Regions from separate parts of the Homo sapiens genome. Here all the other regions are linked to region 1. The links are contacts of gene promoters, found by promoter capture Hi-C in blood cells and fetal thymus (Javierre and others, 2016). All regions are on one chromosome and are shown on one strand. Each heading gives the region's core, a stretch centred on a gene start or on the middle of the fragment in contact. The rest is flanking DNA. Distances are from core to core; before and after follow the strand shown. Region 1 holds the start of OLFML3 (olfactomedin like 3). Region 2 overlaps TRIM33 (tripartite motif containing 33). Region 3 overlaps TRIM33 (tripartite motif containing 33). Region 4 overlaps TRIM33 (tripartite motif containing 33). Region 5 has its middle 150 kb from the start of TRIM33. Region 6 has its middle 170 kb from the start of TRIM33. Region 7 has its middle 170 kb from the start of SYT6.

What was found. Contacts are between HindIII fragments. The CHiCAGO score rates a contact against its expected background, and 5 or more counts as called.
Region 2: a fragment that was not itself captured here is called in contact with the fragment with the promoter of OLFML3 in region 1 in 3 of 17 cell types (total CD8 T cells, megakaryocytes and naive CD8 T cells); the score reaches 9.0 in total CD8 T cells.
Region 3: a fragment that was not itself captured here is called in contact with the fragment with the promoter of OLFML3 in region 1 in 1 of 17 cell types (megakaryocytes); the score reaches 5.1 in megakaryocytes.
Region 4: a contact is called between a fragment that was not itself captured here and the fragment with the promoter of OLFML3 in region 1, in 1 of 17 cell types (M1 macrophages). The highest score is 6.1, in M1 macrophages.
Region 5: a fragment that was not itself captured here is called in contact with the fragment with the promoter of OLFML3 in region 1 in 4 of 17 cell types (M1 macrophages, M2 macrophages, megakaryocytes and 1 more); the score reaches 10.5 in M1 macrophages.
Region 6: a fragment that was not itself captured here is called in contact with the fragment with the promoter of OLFML3 in region 1 in 9 of 17 cell types (M1 macrophages, megakaryocytes, M0 macrophages and 6 more); the score reaches 18.7 in M1 macrophages.
Region 7: a fragment that was not itself captured here is called in contact with the fragment with the promoter of OLFML3 in region 1 in 4 of 17 cell types (M1 macrophages, M0 macrophages, M2 macrophages and 1 more); the score reaches 7.6 in M1 macrophages.

The regions. Positions count from the first base shown.
Region 1 is chr1:113,978,077-113,980,984 of GRCh38, forward strand. It overlaps OLFML3 (olfactomedin like 3), which reads left to right and starts at 1,398. Exons shown (of 3, transcript NM_020190.5): 1 at 1,398-1,554; 2 at 2,256-2,541; 3 at 2,873-2,908. The coding sequence starts at 1,441. RefSeq lists an enhancer at 642-1,475. The HindIII fragment of the contact is 3,076 bases long and covers 1-2,908 here.
Region 2 is chr1:114,429,852-114,432,759 of GRCh38, forward strand. TRIM33 (tripartite motif containing 33) reads right to left here. Exons shown (of 20, transcript NM_015906.4): 6 at 947-1,061. Among named protein-coding and RNA genes, the nearest start is that of TRIM33, 80 kb to the right of the region's middle. The HindIII fragment of the contact is 4,986 bases long and covers 1-2,908 here.
Region 3 is chr1:114,409,894-114,412,801 of GRCh38, forward strand. TRIM33 (tripartite motif containing 33) reads right to left here. Exons shown (of 20, transcript NM_015906.4): 12 at 291-423. Among named protein-coding and RNA genes, the nearest start is that of TRIM33, 100 kb to the right of the region's middle. The HindIII fragment of the contact is 6,971 bases long and covers 1-2,908 here.
Region 4 is chr1:114,393,491-114,396,398 of GRCh38, forward strand. It overlaps TRIM33 (tripartite motif containing 33), which reads right to left. Exons shown (of 20, transcript NM_015906.4): 20 at 1-2,908. Among named protein-coding and RNA genes, the nearest start is that of TRIM33, 120 kb to the right of the region's middle. The HindIII fragment of the contact is 262 bases long and covers 1,414-1,675 here.
Region 5 is chr1:114,354,863-114,357,770 of GRCh38, forward strand. It overlaps the pseudogene LOC100421116. Among named protein-coding and RNA genes, the nearest start is that of TRIM33, 150 kb to the right of the region's middle. The HindIII fragment of the contact is 5,260 bases long and covers 1-2,908 here.
Region 6 is chr1:114,338,254-114,341,161 of GRCh38, forward strand. No RefSeq gene overlaps it. Among named protein-coding and RNA genes, the nearest start is that of TRIM33, 170 kb to the right of the region's middle. The HindIII fragment of the contact is 3,280 bases long and covers 19-2,908 here.
Region 7 is chr1:114,318,443-114,321,350 of GRCh38, forward strand. No RefSeq gene overlaps it. Among named protein-coding and RNA genes, the nearest start is that of SYT6, 170 kb to the left of the region's middle. The HindIII fragment of the contact is 349 bases long and covers 1,326-1,674 here.

The DNA of each region.
Region 1 (2,908 bases), core at 148-2,647:
ATATGTTTTGCCAGATAGCAGTAGCAGAATGAAAAGATGAGTAACCACAGGAAGCTGCTATTTTTCCCCTCCTTTCAAACTGTACTGTTAGAGTCATGGTCCTTTTTACAGAAGGAACCTCTCATCAGATTCTGTTGATTCTAAAGTGAATAGAATTTCTCCCGATAAAGAAATAGGGGTTTGTTTCGATTAATGACTGCAGGTCTCTGAGTAAATGCTCTATTTGATTTTTTTTTTCGGCCCGTGTGTCTACCTTATGGCCCAAGTCTACCTTATGGTGGCCATTAATTCATTTTGGGCTCCTGCAGCCTTAGTTGGGATATAGAAATGAGAAACACTCAGAAATACCCTTTTGGACCACAACCAAGAGAAATAACCAATAGTCTTTTCTCCCAGTGGTAAGGAAGTCAGAATACATTGATCTAGACTGCAACAACATATATATATATATCAGATTCCGCCCCCCCGCAATACATGAATGTATAGTAAATTAGTGTGAACTCACTGAACACTCCTCAGTTTTGGTGAGAGACTATATCTGGCCTCTTTCAAGCAAAGGAAAGCCATGTAAAACAGCGCTGCTGTCAGCCTTAACTTCCAGACGATCGAGTTAATTTACTAACTTCTCAGTGACCTGTTTTTTTTTTTTTTTTAATCTCAGTTATATTTTCTTCCTTGGGCTAAATCAGATATTTGCATAGCCCCCAAAGTAGTAATTGGATAGTCTTGGGGGAAATATGCATTTCAGTGGTGAAAACCCCTGTAAATTCAATATATTTGGCTTTTGTGGAAAATTTTCCTCATGGGGTGAAGTCTAAGCCTTAGTTTCTGTATTATCATGAGAGATGACACCAGCTGCTTAGCACAAGGTGGCGCCAATGAGCTTTAGAATAAGTTGGGCTTGACCACTTGGGCCATTGTTTTCCTGCTTCCTCCCTTCAAGCCTCACCTCCCCAGCTCCCAGCTTCTACTGAACAAGGCTGAAAACCCACTCTATTGCAGGGAAAGGGAAAGATTAATGAAAAATGTCAGTTTCTTAAGTCAGCACTGGTGAAACTTTCCTAAAACAGGAATGGCGTTTGCTGAGTTTTCTCTGGGGTCTCTGCTTTCTGCAGCTAGCTTCCCTGCTTGACTGCCTAGAAGGCCTCTGCTTTCGGGTTTCCATCTCTTTCCCCTCCAGAGGACCCTACAGCCTAGGCGGGAGGTGGTTAAGGCTTCTGGCTGCTGTGCAATGGGGCCATCTGTGTTTGATCAATCCTGGCGGAAAGGAGGGGGTGGGGGTTGTAAAGAGAACTGAAAGCATTCCAGAGTAGTGAGAGAGACCCAGAGATCAGGAGAGAAGGCACCGCCCCCACCCCGCCTCCAAAGCTAACCCTCGGGCTTGAGGGGAAGAGGCTGACTGTACGTTCCTTCTACTCTGGCACCACTCTCCAGGCTGCCATGGGGCCCAGCACCCCTCTCCTCATCTTGTTCCTTTTGTCATGGTCGGGACCCCTCCAAGGACAGCAGCACCACCTTGTGGAGTACATGGAACGCCGACTAGCTGCTTTAGAGGTGAGGGACCCCTTTCTCTTCTAGCCCCGCCTAGAAGGATTCCAGGGCTATTGGTTCAACCAGTTTGTTAGGGATCTGGGGATAACAAGAAAGGGCTCTGTTAGAGTCTACAGAAAATTCTCTCTTAATAAGAGGACCTTCGGAATGACAAGCCCTCCTCTTACCCCACATAGAACAATTCCAAAGCAAATCGACTTTTGCGTTTTACCTCTGGGATTAGATAGAATAAGGGGGCAGAGTGGAAACGAGAGCCAAAATTGTGGGGCTGCATCTCCAGAGAAGGTGATGATTCTGTTGAAGTTGGAGGTTCCCGGGGAATCTATAACTTCCTGTCTTTTTAACAGGTTGAGATCCGTAGCATTTTAGTGTCCGAGAGGATAATTGCTAAGGGAGCAGAGACCTCTTCACACCTTCATGCGCTTAGACCTGCCTAGAGGCTCAGATGGCTCAGTGGCACTGCTCACAGAGAACACAGGCTGGAGGACATGGAGTCGGGGTAGGGGCCTAGGTGAATCTCAGCTAGGCTCTTTGCACATTTAGCACCTCTGCACATCTGGTTTCCTTTTCTGCAGGAGTGGAAGGGGATATTGAAGCCTGGCTGAGTTTGCTCTTTTTTTCCCATTCCTGACTCCCGAGTTGGGCCTCTCCCTGCCTGGGAGTTGTAACCCTGCAGCCTCCCTCCTGATCCCCCATCCCTTCAGGAACGGCTGGCCCAGTGCCAGGACCAGAGTAGTCGGCATGCTGCTGAGCTGCGGGACTTCAAGAACAAGATGCTGCCACTGCTGGAGGTGGCAGAGAAGGAGCGGGAGGCACTCAGAACTGAGGCCGACACCATCTCCGGGAGAGTGGATCGTCTGGAGCGGGAGGTAGACTATCTGGAGACCCAGAACCCAGCTCTGCCCTGTGTAGAGTTTGATGAGAAGGTGACTGGAGGCCCTGGGACCAAAGGCAAGGGAAGAAGGAATGAGAAGTACGATATGGTGACAGGTAAATAATCTGAAAGCAGGCCCCTAACTCTTCTCAGAACCGATATTCTTCCTTCCTTGCTTCTTACTCTTTTTTTCGCTTTGTCCCAGTCCATTGTGGCTCTGTCTTCTGGAATCTGTTTTAGGGAAACCTCTGTAATGCCAGGTCTATTAAGGAGAGGTTCTGGGGATCCAGGCCGCTGTGGTACCCGCTCTTTCTCAATTCTCCCTAAGATTGGAGGCAACCACTGGGCAAATGCTCACTATTCTCCAGATCACCCACCCTGGGGGAGTTCCTGCTGGAGGCATCTAATTCTTGCCTCTATTTCCTTTTCCTGTGCTTTTCTCATCAGACTGTGGCTACACAATCTCTCAAGTGAGATCAATGA
Region 2 (2,908 bases), core at 118-2,617, 450 kb after region 1:
TTCCCAGAAAACTCCTATTTGAAATTTGCTAAAAATAAATCAAATCGGCAGTGGAGACTTTGATTAAAAATTTAGATTTCATGAACTGACTAGATTTTCATCTAGAAACTTACACCTACAAATAAACTTCAAAATATGCAATATAAATACCTAATATCACAAAATTTTCACTAAGTTTAAGGTTTATAAATTTCAAAAAGAGCAGCATTTTCTGCAAAACTATGGAAATATTTTTAAAATAAGGTAAAATACACAAATGACTCAAGCAGAAGCCCAACATGAATCTATATGGTAAAATTAAATTGAGGCCCCATCTTAAGGGGGTGGGGAAGAAATGTGGTGGGACTACTTTGCCTTTACGTACATCACATTTTAGTAACATTTCTTTTTTCTTTTTCTGTTTTTCATTTTGGAGACAGGGTCTCACTCTGTTGCCCAGGCTGGAGTGCAGGACACAATCACAGCTCATTGCAGCCTTGACCTCCCGGGCTCAGTCGATCCTCCCACCTCAGTTTCCTGAGTAGCTGTGACTACTGGTGCATGCCACCACCCTGGCTAATTTTTGTATTTTTTGTAGAGGCAGGTTTCGCCATGTTGCCTGGGCTGGGCTGGATCCCGGGGCTCAAGCGATCTGTCTGCCTTGGGCTCCCAAAGTGTTGGGATTACAGGTGTGAGTCACCATACCCAGTCTTAGTAACAATTATTTGATTTCTAAGAGGACATCACTATTTCCTAAGGTATACAGCTAAAGTCAGTGTTATTAAATTGGGCCGCAAAGTAACTAACTAGAAAAGGTCTCTTCCAAAAGTAAATTTTAAAAACCTTATTTTACGTTTTCCTTTATTTCCATACCCCCCAATCCATCTAAAATAGTTTTCAATAAACATTAAAAACAGCTAAAGAGCAAGAGAAGCAGTTTTTGTTTTATTTTGGCTTTGAACCATACCTCTAGCTGTTGTAAGAGAGATTTTCCTTTCTTATTAATTTCATTGATAAGGGTGAAAATGGCCACTTTAATTTCCTGTTCTACTCGTTTGTTAGTCTCATTTACTTCTTTTATCCTGAATAAGAGAAATGCATCATTAGGTTATCAACTTATCCTAGGTCTCTGAATCATCAACTGTTACAGAAATTCATCCAACTGGGCACTTAACCGAGTAATTAAAATGAAAACTTTGTCAAAATGTACAACTCATGTTTCAGCAGACCTGACCAATTTGGTCCAAACAAGTTATGTACATAGACAAATAATGAAACTAATATTTAGTAATTTTAAATTATGCTCATAAAGGACAGTTTATTAAGCTGGATGGCAATCTACTTAAGTAACTATGACATGAATGTGATGCACAAACACCAGTGACTTCTGGATAGTGTCAAATGTGGCACATTGGTTCTGTTTAACCTTGACGTTTTCCAAGAACAATGTGCAAAAGGACAATGTCACAAGCAATAATTATCTTTTGAAAGGATAATAGTTAAACATAGAAGCATTTATTTTCATTTATAACTTAGCCACTTCAAACATGGGTTCTGATACACTCCCTTCAAAATTACTCTTAATATGGTTTCCCTTTGTATACAGTAAAGGGCATAAAACATTTTCAATCCATTTTTAAGAATAGCTTTAGATGTTTTATAAGTAGGTGTAAGCACTCAAAGCAGTTATGGAAGTTTTAGGTGCAAATATGAAGTGGCTGATACTTTGGTATTTACAAAACAGGAAGTGGATAATCCCACCACTATAAATATATAAAATGTCAACGACCAACCATAAGACATAGCTTCAATTTTTATACATTCTACTTCTGTAAAAACTATAACCCATGCTTTCAGCTCCTAAACTGCCTTTCATTTGCCAAGTTCGAATTTAGTTAACTTTAATACACTCCAAGAAATAATGTAGTTTTTTTCCTTCTCTGTACATCGTTTGGCACTTACTTGAAAATTTTGAGTTTTGTCCTTATCTTACTAAGGTGAGTGGAAGATATTTTTAATATATAAAGGTACTAATAACTAGTGATAAGAAATATAGGTTTCAAATATAAAATGATTGGGCTGAAGATAGAAATCACTAAGCATGCTGAAAACAGAGAGTAGTTAGAGAGTAGTTAGTCTCAGTCAGACTCCTATTGGATTTAATTAAGTCTACTGTATGTTCAGTTTTGAAGAAAGAAAAAAATGTACATTAAAAAATAATGGAGATAGGTCAGTGAAAAATGTGTCTAAAAGGGGAAGTTATCAGAGATTTTAATACTGTTTTTTTAAAAACTTTCTACAGATGAAATCAATCTCCTCAACCCCGTGCAATCTTGTAACAGGTAAACCTCTTGCCCTACTTTTGTATACAGATTCTGGAACACGTGTACAAAATATATTTAAAAAATACTTATACAATGTACACACAAAACATCTGTATAAAAATATGGGACTGCCATATGAATCAACTCACTACATTTCCTTTGAAAGAGACATCCATCTATCATTTCTGAGAAACAGTCTTCTCCAAATCAACTGTATCACCAGTTTAACCTAAAACAACTGAACATTTCCAAAAACAAAAACCCACCAATGGAGTGTGTGTGTGTGTACAATCTACAAGCTCTAAGGAGCCTTTTATTTTCTTTTGGTGTTACTTAAGATAAAAAGTTCTGGCCGGGCACAGTGGCTCAGGCCTATAATCCCAGCACTTTGGGAGGCTGAGGCAGGCGGATCACGAGGTCAGGAGATCAAGACCATCCTGGCTAACACGGTGAAACCCCGTCTCTACTAAAAATACAAAAAATTAGCCGAGCATGGTGGTGGGCGCCTGTAGCCCCAGCTACTCGGGAGGCTGAGGCAGGAGAATGGCGTGAACCCAGAAGGTGGAGCTTGCAGTGAGCAGAGATTGTGCCACTGCACTCCAGCC
Region 3 (2,908 bases), core at 225-2,724, 430 kb after region 1:
AAGAGAAGACGGAGCCCTGTTCTCTCCCCTACCTCCTCATGCCCCAAAGAAGAAATTTTGTCTCAAGACTGTAACAATACTCTTACCTGGGTCTCCAGCCTGCCTCACCTCCCTGCCAACACCCACAATCACATGAGCCAATTCCTTAAAATAAATCTCTCTCAATCTCCCTTTCTCTCTTCAAGTAGACCTCCTACTTATTCTGTTTTTCTGGAGAATTCTGACTAAGACAGATACTGACACTGTTTTTTTAAGGTGTTAAAAAATAAGGTAATACCCGTTTGCTTTACCTGATGATCCCGGAGAAAGGGCAGAGGGACCTGGAGAAGGATTCATGGTGCTTGTAGGCTGTGGGGGTAGGTGACTGCCTGAGATGTATCTACTTAGTAGATTATCTAAACTACTTGAGCCAGCATCTTCCAACTGAAGAGAAAGAAGATAAAGACAAATTTGCTTTGATTAAAGCAGAGAAGTTATTAATTTTATGTCACTGCTTATACTCAGTTTATTAATAAACTAACAGATTATCCAATATCAAGCTGAGCCTTATTATTGCTTCCTTAGGGTCCACTGAGGGCCCACACAGTATAAAGTTTATTTAGATAAAACTGTATTATTCAGCAAACAACTAGGTGCTCAGAGCAAAACAAATCCTATATGTTCTATTATGAAAATAGCTGACATGCTCTGACACTTCTGCTGTTTCTCAAAATTGCTGCAGGACCTATTTATCAGTATTCTTGTCCCCAGTATCCCTCCATTTCAGTGTCCACAATCATTCACTTAAATAGAAATGTAATTATGTTAGTACCCAGCTCTGAAACTCTGAAAAATTCTTATAGCCCACAGAAAGCCCTTAGCTTGACACACAAGGCCCCTTACTACAAAAAAAAAAGGGCACAGTTAACAGTACATATGAGCCCTTCCCTTACTTAGAGGCAGTACGATAAAGCCAGAAGACCCATAACTATGATTCTGGGCTGGTTCTCAACCTGAACGTCAGTTTCCTATCCTTAAAACATGCCACCTATATTGCAGAACTCCGATGATTAAATGACAAAATGTGTAAGAAAGAGTAAAAAAAATTATTTAAGTATGAATATTACCTTAAATCTTATACTATTTCATAAAAGAAATGGTCATATTCTTCTTTTATTTATTTTTGAGACAGGGTCTGGCTCTGCTGTCCAGACTGAAGAGCAGTGGCATCATCTTGACTCACTGCAACCTCCACCTCCCAGGCTCAAGCCATGCCCTCCATTTCAGCCTCCTGAATAGCTAGGACTACAGGCATGCGCCACAACGCCTGGCTAATTTTTGTGTTTTTTTTTTATAGAGATGGGATTTTGCTACATTGCCCAGATTGGTCTCCAACTCCTGAGCTCAAGCAATCTGCACACCTTAGTCTCCCAAAGTACTGGGATTACAAACAAAACAAAACCCATGCCAGAGACATGAAGGGCTGAAGGTAGGAGTAGGCAGTAGGTTAGTTGGAGGGATAATCAAAGGACAATAGCAGTTGTGTTACCCTGTGGTCATAGCTGTTGGCCAAGGATGCACTTGCAAAGCTGTGACTACAGGTGAATCCCTAGCTGCAACTCAAGTCAACAGGAAGATTTGTTATGAGGGGGGAGTACCTAATATGGGCCAGAGATGAAAATGGGGATGCATCCCACCTAAAAACAGAAGGGGGAAGATGATTCAAAACTGACATGAAAATCCCATGTTACCTATTTCCACTCCTTTTTATACTCCTCACCTGCAATTTGTATCTTTTGCTAGAAAGATAACTCTAAGGGTAGAGGATGGACAGGTCAGGAAGAGGCAAACAGGAAATACATTAAAGGACATCCCTGATGTCATTATAACCTCCAACAGATAGGTGCTAACTGAAGCATTCACCTGTGGGTTTCACTAGACATGGATAGTCACCATAAATAAAGTTAGAAGTCTAACTGGAAAGACATTAATTCATTTATTCATTAAAGCAATGTTTTTTGAGCATCCCTGAATAAGTACATGGAAATATAATTATTATATAAATAATTTTCATGATTTAAAAGTAAAAACACAGTCCAATAGGAAAATGAGCAAAGATATTTCACAAAAGACAAAGATAATTTACAGAAGAAATAAAAATAATCAACGAACATAAGAAAACCAATTTCACCAATCAAAGAAATGAAAATAAAGTTAACAATAATGTCATTTTAATCCATCACTGGAAAAGATGGAAGAATGATTAATTTACCTAGTATTGGGAAGACAATGCAAAAATGGGCATTTTCAAATATATAAGCTGGCACAATATTTTTTGTAGAGCAATTTGCCAATACCTATGTGAAATTTAAATGTGTAATTACTTTTGGCCCAGTAATTACACTTCTACCAACTTCGCTTACAGAAATATGTGTTTAAAACTATACAGTCATTGTGCCTCAATGCAGCTTTTTACAAATGACATTAAGGTATAAATGATGTACAATAAACTAAATATATTCAAAGTGTAGTACCTGATGTGAAAGTTTAACACATTTTCACATAGTCTACAACTGGGAAACCCAAATCAAGAATAGTGAACAGATCATATCTATCACCCCCAAGATTCCTCATGCCCCATGGTAATCAATCCCTCTCTCAAACAACCTGTCCTCAACCAACCACTCATCTGCTTCCTTCAGCTTTAGTTTTTTTTTCCAGAGTTTTATATAATTTGAATTATATACTGTACGCTTTTTTCATCTATTTTTTTCACTTGGTAAAACTGAGATTTATCCTTGCTGTTGGATCCAGTTCATTCCTTTTCACTGTTAGTTACTATTCTATTATATGAACACACAATTTGTTTATCCATTTATTTGCAGGTGGATATTTGGGTTGTTTCCAGTTTTTGTCTTATTACAAACAA
Region 4 (2,908 bases), core at 295-2,794, 420 kb after region 1:
CTAAACTTAACTTTGTACACTTTGTAGTTTGATATGACAAATATATCCAAATTAACTTATTTTTGAAGATAGTTTTGTTTCTTCGATACAATAAAAAATATATAAAGGACCACATAGGCAAACACAAGGAACTAAGATGAAAGAAATGCTATACATGCATTTTGACCAAGTAAAAGAAACCATTATATTCAAGAGTACGTGTTGAATCTGAAATGTCTATGTAAACTGTGGCATATAAATTTTTTTCCTTAAAAAAGTACCTTCAATTTTTTTACTCAAACACTTACTTTTAAAAAAATATGCAACTTTCCCCAATTTTTAAAATAAAATGCCACAATATAGTGTCATTACTTCCAGCATACATTTAAATTTCTTAATTTTTAAAAGATAGACTGGGTGATATGCATACAAACTTTCCTATAAAATCACCATCCAGGAGAGGATTCTGACATGCTATTAGGCAACAGACTCAAAGCAGTGTTATTGCTTTATCAAGGAGGAGATTAACTGTGAGGGAAAAAAAATTAAATATCCAGGTCCGGTACATGATCAAACTGTATTACACCTTGAAAATCTTGAGTCACCTTCAGCAGATCATTAACATAGATGGTACAGAAATTAAGAATTCATGGTATGAATTAAGAATCTGTTTTAACTAAGGGAGTTGGGTGCGTGGATTTTTTATAAAACTACTCACTGATCCGATGCTGAGTATGCAAATAAGCAGTGCTGATTTTGACAAGAAATGAGATTTTTATATTTCACATGTTGTACATGAATGGGGGTGGATATGGGACGTAAAAGCCAAGGGAGACGGGGCCACAGCATCTACTCCCATTTTGGATAGTAAGAGACCATTTAATAACATACAGTAGGCCACAATCCAAGGGCATAGTTGGAAGACCTGAATCTATTATCTTATTAACACTAATCACTAATAATTACATGGCAGGATACCTGCTGAGGTAATTGATAAATCTACAATTTGCACACTTATAAACCTTTTACTTCTATTTAAAAGCATTATTTATTTCAATTAACTAAAAATTCCAAAACTTATCACAAAAAATGAGACAACTGACTTAGCATTACCTAAAATTCCCTTATGTTAAGATACAGAAGTCAGAAAGTACCAACTTGTTGATCCAAAAATAATAATTTCAATAGTGGATCCAATGCCTTATCATTTCTCTGTAGTAATGGTTTGATGTTTCCATATAGAGCACGACCTACAATCTAACCATACTTTAGAACTTTCACATGCTTTGCCTCATAAAGCAATTCCTTCACTCAGTGAATTGGCTGAGCCAAGTGCTGAAAACACAAATTTAGGTCAGCGGAACAGACTGAGCAACACTTTGTTCTTAGTTTTCTGATGGAAGAAGTAAATTGAAGTACAGCAAAAACTTTAAAAGCTTTTAAGAAAACATTATTATGTGGACTTTTCTCCAAATCTTCTAAAATACTGCCATTTAAAAAACAAATACAAATGTGAGAGAGTATAAAAACAAACTGCCTTCAGGGACTGACAGATACAATTTTGTCTTTTTAAAACATAAACTAATAGGAAAACATATATCTAAATATCAATTTAAGTTTTTATACTTTTTAACCATAGGTATATTAGAGCTGAAAAAATCAGCTTAGAAACACAACGATCAGTGTGCAAGAAAAAAGCTTTAATAAAAAATCTAAAGTGAATACCTTAATTTAATGGTGGTATGTTGATAGCTATTAATAGTAATTCCTCAGCAGTATACATTATCTTAACAGAAGTGGAGGCTATTAAATGTTGACAAAAAAGTGGCTTTTAAATTGCTTTAACCAATCTTAAAACCAAAAAAACCTAAAAACTCTATCTAACATGTAATTTTAAGGAAACACAATTATTTTTTAAGGCCCCAAATACTGAAAAATATTTACTTAAAATGTTTCTCCCCTCAGTTGGCAGAATCTATTTATGACTCATTATCTACAATTTTTTTAAAAGGATCCATTTGAAGAGCAATACAAAATATTAGAACTCAAAGGCCTGACAAAATGAAGTTATACTGCTGCTATTCCTCACTTTCCAAAAATGTGCCCTTAGATATATGTCTACTTACAAACTGAAATCATGGATTTTGTGAAAAAAGAGGGAAATTGGCATAGGCATAAGTATTTTTAAATAATTTTCTCCCTCTTATTAAAAAACATTTTTAGGAATTTAAAATTTGAGTAAAATGTTTCAACAGTTTGGTATATTTTCAACGGCTTAAATTATTTTTTAAAAATTGAAAGAAAAGTGAAAAGGAAGCCAGGAATAAAGTAAATCAATAGTAATAATAAAATCAATACTCTTTAAATACACAACCAGAAAGCCTGAATCATATTCCTGTTTACCCCCACCCCTTGTTAAGAAAAGAAAAACAACCCAAAGGAATTTGTATAATAATTTCTTTAGAGCACTTTATTTGATTCAATATGCATTAAAAAATATTGACCTCTTAGACAATTACGTGAAATAATTTTCTGAGTAGTCTACTCTCTGAACTGCTTAAATGAATTTTTAAAAAGGCAAATAAATGATTTGCCACAAATCTGCTGACTTCTGAAAAATATCTAACAGCAAATTCTTCTATTTTGGTCTCTGAATATTCTAATGTGTCCATACAAAAGTAGGACTAAAATCTTTAATCAAACAAAAGAGAAGCCTGTAACAGTGTAGAACACACATTTTGAATCTGAGCATCACAAATGAAGAAAAGAAAAATGAACCAGAGCCAAGTTGGTTTATCGGCCTCGGGTGCTGTAATTGGGGTGGTAAAGGTGGGTTTACTCCAGTAACCATTCAAGTGGGGATTGGCTCATTTTCAGGATTTACTTACAGGTCTCTTCTAAGTCCTTTAAGCCCCCAGTCCATGCAAAT
Region 5 (2,908 bases), core at 175-2,674, 380 kb after region 1:
TGACACCCCATCTCTACAAAAAACTAAAAAATTACCCAGGAGTGGTGATGTATGCTTGTGGTCCCAGCTACTAGGGAGTCTGAGGTGGGAGGATGCATTGAGCCCATGAGGTTGAGGCTGCAGTGAGCCATGATCACGCCACTGCACTCCAGCCTGGGCAACAGAGTGAGAACTTGTCTCAATATAAAAAAATAAATAAATAAATGCAGTTTGTTGGTGAATTGAAAAGGAATCAGCCTTTCAGTCATGATGGGTAGCCTCTGACCTCCACTATGTACATCCCCACTAAAATTGGGTAGGTGTCCTGTAGGACTGAGACTCAGCAGTTAGCTGACCTCTTGTACAAATTTGGATGCGAATAGTTATGCGCTGACTGAAACATCTGGTCTGGTTTGATTTGAGAGAAAAGAAACATGGCAAAAAGGTTATGAATATGGAAGTGGAAGAATGGGAACAGAATGTGATGAGGCAATAAAGGATGAGGTCTGATGAATGGAGAGATTGTGTATGAAAAGTCCATGAGTCTATGGAACCAGCAAAGCATGAAAGGTTTAAGACACTTCATCAGTTGGGTTTTCTTGCCTTGAAAAAGGGGGAATAGAAAATGATTTGGTAAGTACTCCCTCTTTCACTTCCTTTGGAAGGGATTGGGCAAAATAAGTATTATTTCCTCCTCATATACGTAGAATTAGTTTTTTTGGTTTTTTGTTTGTTTGTTTTTGAGACAGAGTTTTTGAGACTCTGTCACCCAGGTGGGAGTGCAAGGGCGCGATCTCTGCTCACTGCAAACTCTGCCTCCCAGGTTCAAGCGATTCTCCTGTCTCAGCCTCCTGAGTAGCTAGGATGATAGGTGCCTGCCACCACGCCTGGCTAATTTTTGCATTTTTAGTAGAGATGGGGTTTCACCATGTTGGCCAGGCCAGTCTCAAACCCCCGATCTCAGGTGATCTGCCCACCTCGGCCTCCCAAAGTGCTGGGATTGCAGGCGTAAGCCACCATGTCTGGCCTAGAATTAGTTTAGAAAGCCATTTATCTGTGGAGTTTTCTTTAATGAAAGGTTAACTATAGATGCATTTCTCAAACGTTATAAAAATTTGCATCAGTTTTAATTTTTCTAGAAATTTGTTGATTTCGTCTAAATTTTCCAATTTACTGGCATAAAGTTGTCCATAAAATCTTGTTTTAGGCCCGGTGCAGTGGCTCACGCCTGTAATCGCAGCACTTAGGAGGCTGAGACGGGTGGATCACTTGAGGCCAGGAGTTTGAGACCAGCCTGGCCAACATGGTGAAACCCTGTCTCTACTAAAAATACAAATATTAGCTGGGCGTGGTAGCTGCGTGTACTCCCAGCTACTTGGGAGGCTGAGGCAGGAGAATCACTTGAACCCGGGAGGCAGAGGTTGCAGTGAGCCTAGATCGTGCCACTGCACTCCAGCCTGGGTGACAGAGTGAGACCGTCTCAACAAATTAAAAAAAAAAAAAAAGAGAGAAAGAAAGAAAGAAAGAAAAGAAGAGAAAAATCTTTTTTAAAAAATTCATTTTAGGGCCAGGTGCGGTGGCTCATGCCTGTAATCCCAGCACTTTGGGAGGCCGAGGCAGGTAGATCACGAGGTCAGGAGATCGAGACCATCCTGGCTAACATGGTGAAACCCCGTCTCTACTAAAAATACAAAAAATTAGCCAGGCGTGGTGGTGTGCACCTGTAGTCACAGCTACTTGGGAGGCTGAGGCAGGAAAATGGTGTGAATCTGGGAGGCGGAGATTGCAGTGAGCTGAGATCGTGCCACTGCACTCCAGCCTGGGCGACAGAGCGAGACTCCATCTCAAAAAAAAAAAAAAATTCATTTTAGGCCAGGCACGTGGCTCACGCCTGCAATCCCAGCACTTTGGGAGACTGAAGTGGGCAGATCACCTGGGTCAGGAGTTCAAGACCACCATGGCCAACATGGCAAAAATCCATCTCTATCAAAATATGTAAAAATTAGCTGGGCATGGTGGTGTGCACCTGTAATCTCAGCTACTGGGGAGGCTGAGGTTTGAGGATCACTTGAACCTGGGAGGTGGAGGTTGCAGTGAGCTGAGATCATGCCACTGCACTCCAGTCTGGATGACAGAGTAAGACTCTGTCTCAAAATAAAAATAAAAACAAAAATTCATTTTAAACTTTTAATTGTAAAATAAAGTGCAGATACAGAAAAATCATACAAATGTAGTTGTGTGAATTTTGATTGGGTTGACACCCACATAACTATTAATTGGACCAAGAAATAAAACTCTGCTGGCCACCCCAGAAGTCCCACCTTCTGACATGTTCCTATCACAGCCCACTCCCTTCCTCCAAAAGTAACCACCATTGTGACTTAATCGGTTCTTTGTGTTTCTTTAAGATTTTATAACCTGAATGCATTCTATTCAGGTATTCTGAACAGAATTTATAACCTGAATGCATTCTATTCAGTATTTTTTTAAGGCATGCCTTTTTTTTTTTTTTTTTTTTTTTGAGACGAAGTCTCCCTCTGTCATCCAGGCTGGAGTGCAGTGGTGCGATCTCAGCTCACTGCAACCTCTGTCTCCCAGGTTCAAGCAATTCTTCTGCCTCAGCCTCCCAAGTAGCTGGGATTACAGGCACACAATACCAGGCCCGGCTAATTTTTGTATTTTTAGTAGAGACGGGGGTCTCACCATGTAGGCCAGGCTGGTCTCGAACTCCTGACCTCAAGTGATCCGCCCACTTCAGCCTCCCAAAGTGCTGGGATTACAGGTGTGAGCCACCACGCCCAGCCTAACAGCATGTCTTTTAAGCCTCTTTTAATGCACAGGTTTCCCTCCTCCATCCCTTTTATTGCCTTGCAATTTTTCTGCTGATTATGAAGAATACAGGGCATTTTACCTGTAGAGTTTTGCACAA
Region 6 (2,908 bases), core at 409-2,908, 360 kb after region 1:
AAAAAAAAAAAGAAGACAAGCTTAAATCTCTAAATGTCCAACTCAAAGACTTTCCAGTAATGTGCTAAAATGATATCTTATTTACAGTCTTTTAAGGCTAGCATAGCTGAAAGCCAAGCACAGAAGTGCATTGCCAAATTTCAACATCTGCTGAGGTGACATACTGAAGCAGCTACATGGTCCAGGGTATATACCCTGGGGTTCGTCATCTCGCGCCGGGAAAATTTAGGACAGGGAGACACACGAGGAGTTTAGGAGCAGAGATTTAATAGAGAGAAGAGAAGAGAAATAGAAACAGCTCTCTCTCTAGAGAGGGGTCTCCCAACAGAAAATGACCAGCTGGTGGAGGAGGCACTGGGTTTTATAGTCCAGCTTGAGGAGATGTCGCCTGATTTACGTAGGGCTCACAGATTGGTTGGATCAGGTATGATGTTTACACAGCCCCGGGGAAGGCTGGCTACCCTGCCCTAATCTTATTATGTAAATGAACTCTCCTGCTGACCCGTGCCACCTTGTCTCCTTTTTACTGTACACGTGGCTGATAAAGAGAAGGGAAGATGGGGCCACCATTTTGAACATGATTGGCACAACTGCCGGTATCTATCAGCTCAATTTTACAGGCTGCTCTTTGTTAGAAGGGAAAATGATTTGGGGCTGCTTTTCATTAAAAGGAAAATCTTACTGAGGACTTCCCTACCCTCACTATCTGCCTAAGTAATTTCTTAACTTCTATATCAAAACTCCCTAGGTATGTTATATAAAGGATAGGGCATTGTTCAGAAAGGACTGTGGCCCCTACATGGGGCACGATGGCTCACGCCTATAATCCTACACTTTGGGAAGTCAAGGCAGGAGGATCACTTGAGCTCAGGAGTTTAAGACTAGCCTGGACAATATACTGAGACCTCATCTCTACAAAAAAAATTAACTGAGCATGGTGTTGCATACCTGTAGTCTCAGCTATTCAGAAAGCTGAAGTGGGAAGATCACTTAGCCTGGGAGGTTGAGGCTGCAGTGAGCCAAGACTGCACCACTGCACTCCATCCTGGACGACAGAGAAAAACCATGTCCCCGCCCCAAAAAAAGACAGCGACCCCCAAAATTGTAATAAGGACATTTGGGAAGATCTCGGAGACTCATAGAACACCAAACATGGAACCCTCCGGGTCTCTCTTGCCAGCTAAAAGGCATGTCCCTCCCTTGTCTGATGAGGCTGCTCCTGCGTAGTTTGAAGATGCTCTAACTCTGTGCACAGACTTCCTCACAGAAAGAAGCCAGCTCTGCTCATGCCTCTTTCCTCCACGCCGTCACTCATGGCTCATAAGTCTGTAAATAGAGTCAGACTCTCGCATGACCTGGAAGCAGGAAGTGGAGCTTTTGATTACTTAAAAAGTTAAATCCCCACCAAAAGACTCAGATAAGCAGATTCTAAGGTGGAGATTAGCAAGCAAGACCTTTATCAGGAAGTGAGCTTGAGACCACCCCTGTGGAGCAGAAGGGACAGAAGCAGCCTTGGGCAAGGAAGCAGTTGTGCTGTGCGCACAATTAGCATAGCTCTGGAGCTAGATGGTCATTTAGAGCTCTTCTGAGTTGGAACCAAGGAGCCAGCCTTTGTTAACCCAACTTTGACCAGTCGTTGGATGTGGCTGCTTCATGATGGGGACATGACCTTGGGCTAGGGACATTTCTTCACTCAAGGCATCCCCAGAGTGAGCTGCTGGCTGAGGGCCCACTCCCAGCAGCTGGGAGAGTAAGTCCTTCATTTCTGAGAGGGGATACAGTGGTGCACCACAGTGTCCAGCACCGTGCATTATTTTAAATCAGCCTGAAATTAATCAGGAGTATGCTCACCAGAAATCAGGAGACAGTGTGCTATCTCCAGCCATTGCAAGTGGCCCTAATTGCTGCCTGTCAGTTGTTTTGAAATGTGGGCTCAACAGTGGCTCATGTGAAATGAAATTCCATGAAACAATGGAAGAAATAATCCAAAAATTTCGGAATATAGAAGTGCTGGAGAGGATTTATCATGTGTCACCTACCCATTCATCTGCTAATTCTCTCTCAAGAGGGCCCAGAAGAGGGCCCAGATTGGTGAGGGAGCACCTCTATCTCTGAGAAGCAGTCTTGTGACTGATTTCCGTAAACTAAAGATGCAATTGTAAGCAGTTGAAATGGGATCCCTGATTTTAATGGAAAAGGAAAGATACCAGAATAGCAGAAGCTGATTTCAGGCACTTAACTACAAAAGACAAGATAATCATGGTAGTTATAATAGACAAGAGGGCTGGAATGGTAATAAAAATGATCCAACCTGACTTGATGGGGGCTAACTGATGAAGTCTGGGGTAGAAATTGAAGTTCTCCATCAATATCCACTCTCTTGTTCTCTCTAACCCAGCCTCCTTTCAGCTGATATGGTTATATAACCAGCTCTGGCCAATGAAGTGAAAGAAGAAAGGTGGGCTATCTTCATCCATTGTGCTGCTATAACAAAATACCTGAGACCGGGTAACTTGTGAAGAACAGGAATTTATTTATCACAGTTCTGGAGGCTGGGAAGTTCAAGATCAAGGCACCAGTAGGTTTGCTGTCAGTGAGGGCTGCTCTCTGCTTCCAAGATGGTGCCTTGTTGCAGCATCCTCCAGAGGTGAAAAATGCTATGTCCTCACATGACAGAAGGGCAAAAAAGGGCCAGACTCTCTGTGAAGGCTCTTTTATGAAGGCTTTATTCCTATTCACAAGGGAGAAGCCCTCATGATCTAAGCATCTCCCAAAAGGCCCCACCTCTTAATACTGCCACTATGAGGATTAAGTTTCAATATGTAAATGTTGGAGGGGACACCATCACTCAAACCACAGCATGGGTCATCTCCAGGACATGCCCTTAAAGGAGGTGGGGAGGATACCA
Region 7 (2,908 bases), core at 250-2,749, 340 kb after region 1:
TGGGCTGATTGCATCCAGGTTTAATCTTGTAAACTATTTAGAATATATTCAACAATTATAATAAATACTGAAAAATATTATTATATCAAGAGTACTATCAAAACAAAATTAACTTGAAAAATATCAGAAAGCTGTTCTAAGAAGCAGTTAAGTGCTAGGCATGAGACAGAGATGAGAAATCAACCAACTGGGTGTACCATCTCCAAAAAGATTGAGAATGCCTATTTTTAATGCCATATTTCATTCATGTTTAAGAAGAGCTATCATATTCTTACCTTCTTATCTGCTGTCAAACTTTCCACGTTCAATAAACTTTTTAAAATTATGAGCACATGTAGTATCATTTGAGAAATGGAATGTTGGACCTAGATTCGTGAGTTAGAAACGACTTACCTCTCTCCTTGAAGGTTTTAGAAATATTATGCACTTAAGAAAAGCTTTTTTTTTTTTTTTTTTGCAGAATGAGCTCCAAAAAACATTAAACATGAAAAAATAAGCAAGATGTGCTGAGGGAAAACTTGACATCTTAAAATTAATTTTCCTTATAAAATGCATTTACTGTTTTCTCTCTAAAGCAATGAGGAATTTTGTGGCCACTATACAACTCTGTTTTGCCTCTTTTGATGGTTTCTGAGGTCCCTGGACTCCCTAAATTATTCTTTCTGAAATATGTTCTCTTTGGCAGAGTGGAATTTTTTTCTCACGGAAAGAGTTGGTGGTTTAAAAATACCTTTTTTGGGCACAGAATAAAATATTCATCAAACCCCGCCTCCTGATTTCCCAGCATCTATTTATGAAAACCTGCCACTAAACATCTTATGGTGACCAAAAATGTTCCCAGGTGACAGCAAAAATAACTGATTTATATTATGATTTTATATTCCCAGTCCAGCTTTTAGACATTCCACAAATCTTTATGTTTGTATAGAAAATGACCTCTGGAGTTTTCTTCCTTCTCAATTACTATTTATGCCATAAGCACACAATTATTCGAGAACTGATGAGTCTTGGACTAGAATTCACTGCAGAGAGTAGTTTAGGATATAGCTTGCAAGATTTCATAGAGTAAATCCCAGAAGCTCTCCACCCAATGTCATTCCTGACAAATGAAGAAAATATAGGTTCTTTGGAAGAAAAAGATGTGATTTGTAAAGCTAGCTGAGCCAACATCTTCAAAGTAAGAGAGACAGCCAGCAACTCACTATTCATAGACATATTTTATACCCTCGAATCGTGTGGTTTCTCTGCTGGTGAGTAATGAAAGCCATTTGGTTTTTCTGTCCAAGTAATAACAAGTCTTGTTCAAGGAAACTAGTTTTATTTAAAGCTTTGAGATTGTTTTTCTTGTTTTCTTGGCTTAAAAAGAGTCAGCATTGAAAGACTCTTACTTCTTTCTTTACTATAAAAAGGAGAAAACTGCTTATTCTTTCTGAGTCCTCTGTGGAATTTGTATTCACGTAGGAAGAAATTTGTATCCCTACACCAATGTCTAGCTAGTTTTTAAATTTTTATTTAGCAGACATTTATATATACTGTCTGCACCAAGCATTTTACACTTATGAACTCCATTAATCCTTAGAATACTCAGATAAGATTTTCTTGATAATTTCTTCTTTTCCTTAAAATTCAAGGTAGCAGTATTTTTTGCTGTGGATAGGACTGCGATTCATTTTAAGCTTTTTTGTCTTTTAGAATCATCCCAAGCAGATAGAAATGGAGAAAGGAAGAGTAAACCTCTAAAATATTATTTGGGGATCAATGTCAGTAGAGAAATAACAGACCAAAGCATCCAAAAAGGAAATATTTAACTTTGATAGAGCTTGTAGTTTGAGAAATTTATATAAAAACAGACTAACTCCCAACCATATAAGCTAACCAGCTGGTATTTATTTTATCAAAACTTCAGAAACTTTTGCCACAAATATACCATGAAAGGCAATGCTACAGATTATATACTAGAGTTAATAGAGTGGTGTTAATACTGTTTTCACAATGCTCATTAAAGCATTTAGAGAAAATATCACCATGTCATACAACACTGCCCTACATGATAGAAGACCAAGATCTTAATTTGGTCTTTCAGTTCTTATATGTGTCTTTTTAATACATATCTAAAAACGTGTCTTTTAAATACATGTGTCTTTTAAATACATATTTTTAAGATGTGTCATTTAACTACAGAAATGGAGATAATAACACCTCCCTTAATGAAAATTTGGGGCAGGGCAGAAGAATCCCTGAAGTCTCTACAGTATGATCTAACATCTTATCACTCATCCCATGCATCAGTGTAACCTCATCTACCACAGCATTCCCCAAAGTGTGATTCATGGAATGCTAGATTTACATGAAAATAAAGCATTCCAAGATACACATGTTTCAGAAATGCTTCATATTATGTGGTCCTCTTGGAGATGCACAATGCAGTTAGGCTATGAGAAGCCCTGCAATAAATGACCTTGCATGATTTATTTAACCTAACCTAGCCTTAGTGTTCTGAGAATGTGGCTGGACCACTGGTTTATCTAATGAACTCTGGACAATCTGCTTCAAGATATGAGGACAAGACATTGCAGAGAATAGATTAGAGCCTGCATTCAGGAGCAGGCAGGGATGGTTTCTGTAGTGAAGTTGTTCTAGTTTGGTTCTTAGGTGCAGAGATTGGGTTTCTCGTCCTTCTCAGTTCATGACCGATTTTCACAATGGTCAAAGCAACACTCCTCTCTGCTTTTTTTTTTAATTCAGCCCTGTTCTAAATGTACCTAAATTTGTCTTAATCAGATATGGTAAGACATACAGACACAGAAATGACCATTATAAGGAGGGAGGTCTTACTCTCACAAATCCAGGGCCACATGGGGAGGCACAGGGCTAGTGGGGAGGCAGAGAGAGTAGGGGTGGGGGAATG